Linked DNA regions of Homo sapiens: regions 2 and 3 are each linked to region 1. The links are contacts of gene promoters, found by promoter capture Hi-C in blood cells and fetal thymus (Javierre and others, 2016). All regions are on one chromosome and are shown on one strand. Each heading gives the region's core, a stretch centred on a gene start or on the middle of the fragment in contact. The rest is flanking DNA. Distances are from core to core; before and after follow the strand shown. Region 1 holds the start of FBXO43 (F-box protein 43). Region 2 has its middle 95 kb from the start of PABPC1. Region 3 has its middle 110 kb from the start of PABPC1.

Region 1 (3,194 bases), core at 575-3,074:
CCTCTCTTCATTCTGTCCTCCATTCTGCCACCAGAGTGGACTTTCTAAAATGCTCTTCAAACTCTGAAGGTGCAACCAGAACTTCCCAAGACTTAGCTTCTTCACTTCTCAGGAATTTTCTCTAATCCTTTCCTCTAACAACTCTTAGTTTCTGCCTATAACAAATTATTTGCAGCTTCTCCATGTGCCCAACTGCTCTTGCACATTTTGTTTTGAGTTTGAAATTTTCCTGCCCTTATACATTTTAAGTTTGGAATTTCCTGCTGTCTGCCTTTTAAATTGCCACTTGTACATCAAAATCTATCTCATGCACTCTGTTCTCCAGTAGAGTTAGCTGGTTCTTCTTTCCTTTGTGCTGCTACTGTTCCTCTGTTACAGCACTTGCTCTATACCAATGAGCTCCTTAACAGCAGTAACTGTGGCTGTGTCAGCTCTGTATTCCCAGTACCTAGCACAGTAATTGGCACATAGTTGGAATTTAATAACTGTTAGTGGACGGGCACAGTGGCTCATGCCTGTAATCTCAGCACTTTGGGAGGCTGAGGCAGGTGGATCACCTGAGGTCAGGAGTTCGAGACCAGCCTGGCCAACCTGGCAAAACTCCGTCTCTACTGAAAATACAAAAATTAGCTAGGCGTGGTGGCGGGTGCCTGTCATCCCAGCTACTCGGGAGGCTGAGGCAGGAGAATCGTTTGAACCTGGGAGGTGGAGGTTGCAGTGAGCCAAGATTGCACCACGGCACTCCAGCGTGCGTGACAGAGCGAGACCCTGTCTCATAATAATTTTAGTGAGTTTGGTTTTGGATGACTGAGGGACATCCAGTTGGAGAAATGTCCAGTCAGAGAAGAGTGGTGGTAGTGCCTGTTATTGGCTTAAAAGTGATGGTTGAAGTTCTGAATAAGAATTACATAAGCATGGGATGATAAACTAATAAAAATGCTGAGGTAGGACCTCTCATTTAGGGAGTAGGCCAAGGAAAAGAAGCCAGAAAAAGGAGACTAGGAAGAAGCTGCCAAGAGCAGCAGGAGTGTCCCTGGCATATAATAGACGCCCAGTAAATATTTATTGAATGAAAAAATTAGGGTTTAAAAAATTTATTTGGCTTTGAGGGTACTTGGGAGTTCATGATGCCCAAAAATGGATGTTTGTAAACAATGAACACATTTCACTCTGGTTTTTATGAATAGATTTTTTAAAAATCTTTTTTTTGAGATGGGGGTCTCACTATGTTGCCCAGGCTGGTCTCAAATTCCTTGGCTCAAGTGATCCTCCCACCTCTGTGCTGGGATTACAGATGTGAGCCACCAGGCCCGGCTCAGCTTTTTTATCACAAAATCTGTATATATTCATTGTTGAAACATGAGAAGAAAACACAGATAAAAAGAACTAAAAAGCAAACATAATCCTGTACAAATTTACCGTATCCAAGTTATTCATACCTTTCAGACCTCATCCTGTGTATATCCATATTTTTAACCTAAAAGGGGTCAGTTTGTAACTTGCTTTTTGCACTTGACAGTTTGGAGAATCATTTCCAAGGGAACATTCTCATACATGATTTCTAATGGCATCCCACTGTAGGCCACGTTAGCATTCCTAAATACGGTAATGCTTCCCAAAGTGGGAATGGGGAGAAGCAGAGCCTTTCTGACCCGCCTCGGGACGGGTGCAGGGGTGAGCGAGAGAGGGGGCGCTCCTCCCGCTCAAGCGAGGACCCAGGCCTGCGGGCGGCCGGGCGGGAGCGCTGCAGAGCCGGAGGAAGGGGCGGGACAGCGCGGCGCGGGGCGGGGCTGCGCTTAGCGGTTACCCCGGGCGGGCCGTTCAAACCTAAGGAGGTAAAGGCAGCGGCCCCACGCGAAGCTGGCGTGGGGGTTGCCATAGCCCGCATCCCAGGGGGCGAGGCCGAGGCTTCTCCCCGGCCCATCCAGCGGCTGCTGCCCGGCTCCTCTCCCACCTGTCCGCTTCGGCGCCTCGCCCGGCCCCGCGGCCTCCAGGCAGGCGGCGGGACCCCAGGCGAGTGCCCGTTAGCGGGTCTCCCGGCGGCCCGGCCCCGCGTCGCCCTGTGTCTTCCAGGTGCTGGGCCTAGGGAGGCGCGCGGCAGCCCTCACTCCTCCGCTCCTGGTGACGCCAGCCCATCCCCTGCTGCCCTTGGCTTTCTGGGCCTAGCGGATCTTTGACGCCCTGGTGAGACCGTTACCCACCCGCCCGCCATAGCTCCTCGGGGGAGTCAGTGCCAGGCTGCAGCACACGCTGCCTTTTCAGGAACCCGAATTTGGGAAGTTTACTCATGTCTAAGTCCAGCTGGAGAAAACAAGGATATTAAGATAACTATTTTCTGGAGGGCTGAAGGAAATTCAAAATGATTTAGACCTTCTCAAGTGTTAGGAATAATCCCTGCGGCATGCACCCTGTGTACCCTTCGACTTTGAGCAATCATGATGCTGCTGCACCTTTCAATTAATTGTGCAAACTAAAGTTTTCCTCTTTAAGTGGCATTATTTTGGCATGAGTTTTAAAGACAAAGATGAGAGAATTTCTTGTTTGGAAGCCTACGTAACTTTGACATCTAAGAGCTCAAGATTTACTGATGGTAAGAGTTTCCACTTTAACAAATGAAGAACATTTGGGTTTAATGTAAGTACTTCATTCTCTGATGTGGTAGGTGCTTTTTCTTTTTTTTCTTTTTCTTTTTTCTTTCTTTTTTTTTTTTTGAGACGGAGTCGCTCTGTCGCCCAGGCTGGAGTGCAGTGGCGCGATCTCGGCTCACTGCAAGCTCCACCTCCCGGGTTCACGCCATTCTCCTGCCTCAGCCTCCCGAGTAGCTGGGACTACAGGCGCCCGCCACCACGCCCGGATAATTTTTTTGTATTTTTAGTGGAGACGGGGTTTCACCGTGTTAGCCAGGTTGGTCTCGCTCTCCTGACCTCGTGATCCGCCCGCCCCGGCCTCCCAAAGTGCTGGGATTACGGGCGTGAGCCACCGCGCCCGGCCGCTGCTTTTTTTTTTTTTTTTCTTAAAGAACACTTTAGGAATAAGTTTTCTCAGCCTTTTATCAGAAGCCTAGTTTTTAAAAATGAATATCGAAGAGGCTTGATTGATTTATCCGTGAACTGTTGAGTCCATAAAATACAACAGACAGTCCATGATTTTACATGAATAATTTTAAAATTCAGTTGCGAAGAACCACGTTTGAG
Region 2 (3,161 bases), core at 235-2,734, 670 kb before region 1:
GGTGCCCGCCACTACACCTGGCTAACTTTTATATTTTTTGGTAGAGACAGCGTTTTGCCATATTGGTCAGGCTGGTCTCGAACTCCTGACCTCAGGTGATCTGCCCGCCTGGGCCTCCCAAAGTACTGGGATTACAGGCATGAGCCACTGTGCTCTGCCCCTTCCAATCTTTATACTGCTTTTCTTGTACGTATTTTATTGGTTCACTGAGACTTTTAGCAGACTCCACTGAATAGTAGCGATGGTAGGAGGCATCACCATCTTCTTCGTGTCTTTGTGAGAATATTACTTTTACTCCATTCAGTGTGATGTTTGCTGTGTGTTTCCAGTAGCTATTTCCATATTTTTCATCTAGTAAGAGTCTTTAATAGCAATGGCGTTGAATTTAATCAAAAGCTTGTTCACCATCTACTGAGATACTCAAATGGTTTTTCTCCTTTAAACTATTAATTAATGTATTGAATTACATTAATAGATTTCCTAGTGTTGAACCACTTTTGCATCCCTAAAATTAGCCCTACTTGGTAATAATGCACCATTTAAATAATATTTCACTTGGTGTTTTTGCATCTATGCTCATAAATGAGATTAAGACCTTAATTTTGAAAGTCCTGAATGCCAGGGTAAGGAATCTGGATTTCTTTGCTGAAAAACAATAAGATTTGATTAATATTTTTACCATCATGAAAATTATATCTTGGCCACTCCAGTGATAAGAATTTATCTTCTGTGAATTATCTGGGTGTCCTTTCTGTTCTCTATTGCTGAATGTTTCTAACTTTATCCTGCTCCAGACAGTGTTGTTTAATGACTATTGTGGAGATATGGCTGCAACTCTTTCCTTTTCTCTTAATTGGAAATCAATCTATTTTATATAACTATTGTTTTGGTTTTTGTTTTTTTTTTCTTTGGACAGTGTCTTTCTCTGTCACCCAGGCTGGAGTGCAGTGGCATGATTTCGGCTCACTGCAACCTCCACCTCTCGGGCTCAAGCAATTATCCTGCCTCAGCCTCCTGTGTAACTGGCATTACATGCGCACACCACCATGCCCAGCTAAGTTTTGTATTTTTAGTAGAGACAGAGTTTTCCCATGTTGGCCAGGCTGATCTCGAACTCCTGACCTCATGATCTGCCCGCCTCAGCTTCCCAAAGTTTTGGGATTACAGGCATGAGCCACTGCACCCGGACTGTTTTTTTTCCCCCCACAATTTCATGCCATTGTGTTTTTGCACAAGAGTGGCTTGCCAAGAACGGGTGTGGAGCTCTGTGAAGAACAGCTCTATTGGGAAAGTAGAGGCATCCCAAAGGCCCCCTTCAGTGACTATTACAGGAGCAGGACATAATTATACTATACAAGCAACAGCAGGATGACCACACTTGCTGAAATTTCCAGAAATGTTTAGGTATCCAGATCTACAGTCAAGCCACCTGTCAGCATGCATGCCCTTCTTTGTTGTTCTGGAAATAAGGTCACCATGGGCAGAGGGAGGCCAGCTAAAATCCACCTAGTTCGCCAGAAAGCCTAAGATATGCTAAGGAATTCAAATCCTCAAAAAAATCTCAGTGGGAAACACATTTGTTGGTCCTTGTGGACTCCTGAAAATAATACTCCCTCCAGCAGCCTCAGAAGCCACACAGTGCCTTTAAGATGTCACCAGTGGTGACAGCAGGTGTGCTGAGAACTTGACTGACTCCCAGCTATCACGTTGGCCTCCTGAGCTCTGGACTGCAGGTTTGTGGTTCTGCTTGGGAGTGCTTCTTGATACCTCTGGCCCACTTCTAGTTGTGCCTCTATCCATTCTCCCCTTTTTTCCATGATAGCAGGTCTTTGCTCAAGCAAAGACCACATTTCCCAGGCTCCCTTGCAGCTGTGTGGCCACATGACTAAGTTCCTCCCAGGAGCCTTTGAACAGGTCTTTCCCTTCAAACAACTGGGTAAACGCTCCACTAATACATTTCCTATTTCCACAGACATAGAAGCTGGGAGTGGGAAAGAAAGACCACAGATTGGCTGGGCACAGTGGCTCATGCCTGTAATCCCAACCTTTTGGGAGGCTGAGGTGGGTGGATCATCTGAGGTCAGGAGTTCGAGACCAGCCTGGCCAACATGGTGAAACCTCATCTCTACTAAAAATACAAAAATTAGCTGGGCGTGGTGGCAGGTGCCTGTAATCCCAGCTACTCAGGAGGCTGAGGCAGGAGTATCACTTAAGCCCGGGAGGTGGAGGTTGTAGTGAGCTGAGATTGCACCACTGCACTCCACCCTGGGCAACAGAGCGAGACTCCGTCTCAAAAAAAAAAAAAAAAAGAAAAAAGAAAAAGAAAGACCACAGATCACACGGCTGCCCCTCAGTCTCCTACTGTAAAGGTACAGTATATCTCTGGCGAGCTTGCCTAACTGTAAGGGATAGTCATACTTTGGCAGGTAGGGGAACAGGAGCCAAGCATCTTAACCCCCTCCTATGTTTGGGGACGTGCCCACTGTATGTGTGTGGGTATGGAACATGCCCCACTTCCTACCGAGGAAGCCCTAAAGGCCTGTTACTCCCATATGAGAGAGACCAAAGCTTCATAAATGCCCCAAGTTGGCTCTGGAGCAGGAGGACTGGAGAGTGGGGCAGTTTAATGTAAGTTGGGGGGATGAATCATAATTGTACAGTAGTTAAGCATATGTTGGTTCAAAACACAAAGGCTGGGAAATTAAGTTGCATCATATAACAGATTTAATCAGACATAATGAAATAAAGCTAAGGGGAGAAAATCTAAATTATAAACACAAGAAAAAAGTCTAATATCGCGCTAACTAGATTATTACAAAACATTTTTAGGAATTCCAGCAGGGCTCCTACTTTTCTGCAAGGCAGATTAAACAACACATTTTTAACTTTAATTATGGCAAGAAAACCTAAATGTTGGTTAAAGCTTAAAGGATAGACTCCCTGGGTTGACACAGTAGAAAAACCTCCAAGGAGAAATTACATTCAGAGACACAAGTTGAAAAACGTAAATAAATGAAATACATTTACAAATTAATGAAACAAATGGATTTTTAAAAAATGAATGATAAGGGTTACAATGACTAGTAACAGCCACTTTTAGAAAGTTTAATTAGCAGCTATGGCACAAGGTCTGGTGAATTAGAAAGGCCAGATGAGGCCGG
Region 3 (2,834 bases), core at 141-2,640, 690 kb before region 1:
CTTTTGATGCCTTTTTGGCTTCAATATGTTTAGCTTAGTAAGACTTCCCTCATCTAAGATTTATAAATATGTACATATACTTCTTAAATTCTCGTATATTTGTTTTATTTTACATCCAAATTTAACCATTCTGAAATCCAATTTCAGATGAGGTCTGACTCCTTTTTTACCCACTTAAACTATTTTGGTTACCATTTTATTCTTCAAATACAACTTCTAATAGGTTCTAAGCACTTAAGCCTCTAACCAAAGACTAGAGCCCTGGATTTGCCATCATCTGAATGCTGGCCTGTTGCAATTCACTTTATTTCTTCCCTTTCTGTGCTAGTTATAGAAAACTATTTTTTGTCTATCTGGAAAATCCATTCATTCAGTAAAGACCAACAATTAAAGCCAGCTGTTTTTTTTTTTAAGGAAACAGTGAGTTTCCTTAATATTTCAGGCTTGAAAAGCTTTCCATGAATAGCAGTTTAAGATCAACTCATCCAAGTGTGTACTAAGACTTTCACATTATTTTGAATCCTAAAGTTATTTGATCTTCAAAACAAATGGGGAAAAATATTCTACCTATGGAATAAACCTATTTAGATAGTTGAATTTTAAAAAACTTATGCTTCAGGTGCGGTGGCTCACACTTGTAATCCCAGCACTTTGGGAGGCTGAGACAGGCAGATCACCTGAGGTCGGGAGTTCGAGACCAGCCTGGCCAACATGGTGAAAATACACACACATACATACTCTCTGTTTCTCTCTCTCTCTCTCTCTCTCTCTCTCTCTCTCTCTCTCTCTATATATATATATATATATATATATATATATATATATATATACACACACACACACACACACACACACACACACACACAAATCAGCTGGGCATGGTGGCACACGCCTGTAGTCCCAGCTACTGGGGAGGCTGAGGCAGAAGAATCGCTTGAACCTGGGAGACGGAGGTTGCAGTGAGCCAAAATCGCGCCACTCCACTCCAGTCTGGGTGACAGAGCAAGACTCCATCTAAATAAATAAATAAATAAATAAATAAATAAATAAATAAATGTAATATGAGAAGCCAGGAGAGGAGTGAGTTGATGAAGGAGTGAGCAGAACACGTGTAAGAACACCCTTAAGGAGATGAAAGGAGAGGGTAGAAGAAAGACCCCAAGCCAGTGGCCTCTGTGAATTGGTCACAAGACCACAGTGGGGGATCCTGCTGAAGATGCATAAACTTCCTCAAATAATGACGATGGTCTCCGCTGCCATGTGTCCCTCACCTGCCTCATGGTCCAGTACCCAAATGTTGCCAGAATGAGGACTGAGACTATTGTTCCCCTGTGGGAGAGAAGATTTACATAACTAGGGAGAGTTTGGGGATTGGTGATAATTAAATAAACAAAAACAACAAAACCAATGATTAATCCGAGAAAAAACAAAAAAGTAGGGAAGGAGAAGTAATCGTAATATGTTACATGACTCAGCTGTCAATAACATTAATCGATTCGTAAAAGGTAAACACTTATGCCAGTTATCAATTTACTGCCTCTCCAGATTCACACTGTGAGATTCGGGGTCCTTTGACTATTTCTCCTTTGCAGCCGGCATGATGTTAAAAGCATCGTCAGTAGAGGGCGTTGGAGGGATGCTGAAGGAGGAAGGCGGTTGCTTCCACCATCCAGGTTTTGCTGCTTTTCAATCCTCTCCCCACACCCCCCAATGCGGCAACCAAAGATCCAGTGACAGCTCCATTAGGATCCAGCAGCACCAGATGGATAACTTCCCACAGGGTTCCCGCAGCCTTCCCAGGAATGATCCCCAGTGAATCATGCGGGTGCCTCAGTTGGCTTCCCAGCCTTGGCCTGCCAGCCCTCCAGAGAGGTGTTTTCTGCTTGCCAATCCTGGCCACGGTTTTCTACACATCTCTACCTCGGAGTGGTGTTTTCTTCTTGTCCAGTGGCCTGGAGCAACCCAGAAAACTTCTGTGCCATCTCAGCCTCAGGGAGGGACGTTCCTCCCGGGAGTATCCTTGCATGGGGGAAAAGAACCTCCAGAGGTCTGTAGTAGAAACAGACTTCTGTTACAAAAGGCAAATTAACAAAAGAAAAGCAAACAAATTTATTCACATATATACTTCATAATACATGGGAGATACACAGAGAATGAGTAGTTCTCAAAGTGGTGGCTTGGAATTCCAGCTTAGCTGGCATCTTTAACAAAGAACAGTACACTTTTAGAGAAGTGACAGGACAAAGGAAATGGATTTTGAGTTTCTACAGGCAGCAACTTGAGGAAAGGCAAAGAACTGGCAGATAAAGGCTGGTTAGTAAAGCTTGTTCATATGCATTCCTCTGGCTTCATCTCCAGGCCGAGACAGTTTAAAGCTTTCTTCAGTGGTAACCTTTATTTTTATTTATTTGTTTTATTTATTTATTTATTTATTTATTTATTTTTGAGATGGAGTCTCGCTCAGTAGCCCAGGCTGGAGTGCAGTGGTGCAATCTCGGCTCACTGCAAACTCCGCCTCCCGGTTCAAGTGATTCTCCTGCCTCAGCCTCCCAAGTAGCTGGGATTACAGGCGTCCACCACCACACCCGGCTAATTTTTGTGATTTTAGTAGAGACGAGATTTCACTATATTGGCCAGGCTGGTTTTGAACTCCTGACTTCAAGTGATCTGCCCACCTTGGCCTCCCAACGTGCTAGGATTACAGGCGTGAGCCACTGCCCCCAGCCCCCTTATTTATTTATTTTTATTTTTTTGAGATGGAGTCTCGCTCTGTCACCCAGGCTGGAGTGCAAGTGGAGTGCAGTGGCACGATCTTGGCTCACTACAACCTCTGC

Evidence for each region. The method cuts DNA at HindIII sites, captures the fragments that hold promoters and counts their contacts. A CHiCAGO score of 5 or more calls a contact.
Region 2: a contact is called between a fragment that was not itself captured here and the fragment with the promoter of FBXO43 in region 1, in 1 of 17 cell types (activated CD4 T cells). The highest score is 5.1, in activated CD4 T cells.
Region 3: a fragment that was not itself captured here is called in contact with the fragment with the promoter of FBXO43 in region 1 in 7 of 17 cell types (naive CD4 T cells, naive CD8 T cells, activated CD4 T cells and 4 more); the score reaches 10.0 in naive CD4 T cells.

What each region holds. Positions count from the first base shown.
Region 1 is chr8:100,144,447-100,147,640 of GRCh38, reverse strand. FBXO43 (F-box protein 43) reads left to right here and starts at 1,824. Exons shown (of 5, transcript NM_001029860.4): 1 at 1,824-2,590. The coding sequence starts at 2,506. RefSeq lists a silencer at 1,641-2,100. The HindIII fragment of the contact is 15,929 bases long and covers 1-3,194 here.
Region 2 is chr8:100,815,062-100,818,222 of GRCh38, reverse strand. No RefSeq gene overlaps it. Among named protein-coding and RNA genes, the nearest start is that of PABPC1, 95 kb to the right of the region's middle. The HindIII fragment of the contact is 2,172 bases long and covers 399-2,570 here.
Region 3 is chr8:100,834,453-100,837,286 of GRCh38, reverse strand. No RefSeq gene overlaps it. Among named protein-coding and RNA genes, the nearest start is that of PABPC1, 110 kb to the right of the region's middle. The HindIII fragment of the contact is 1,871 bases long and covers 455-2,325 here.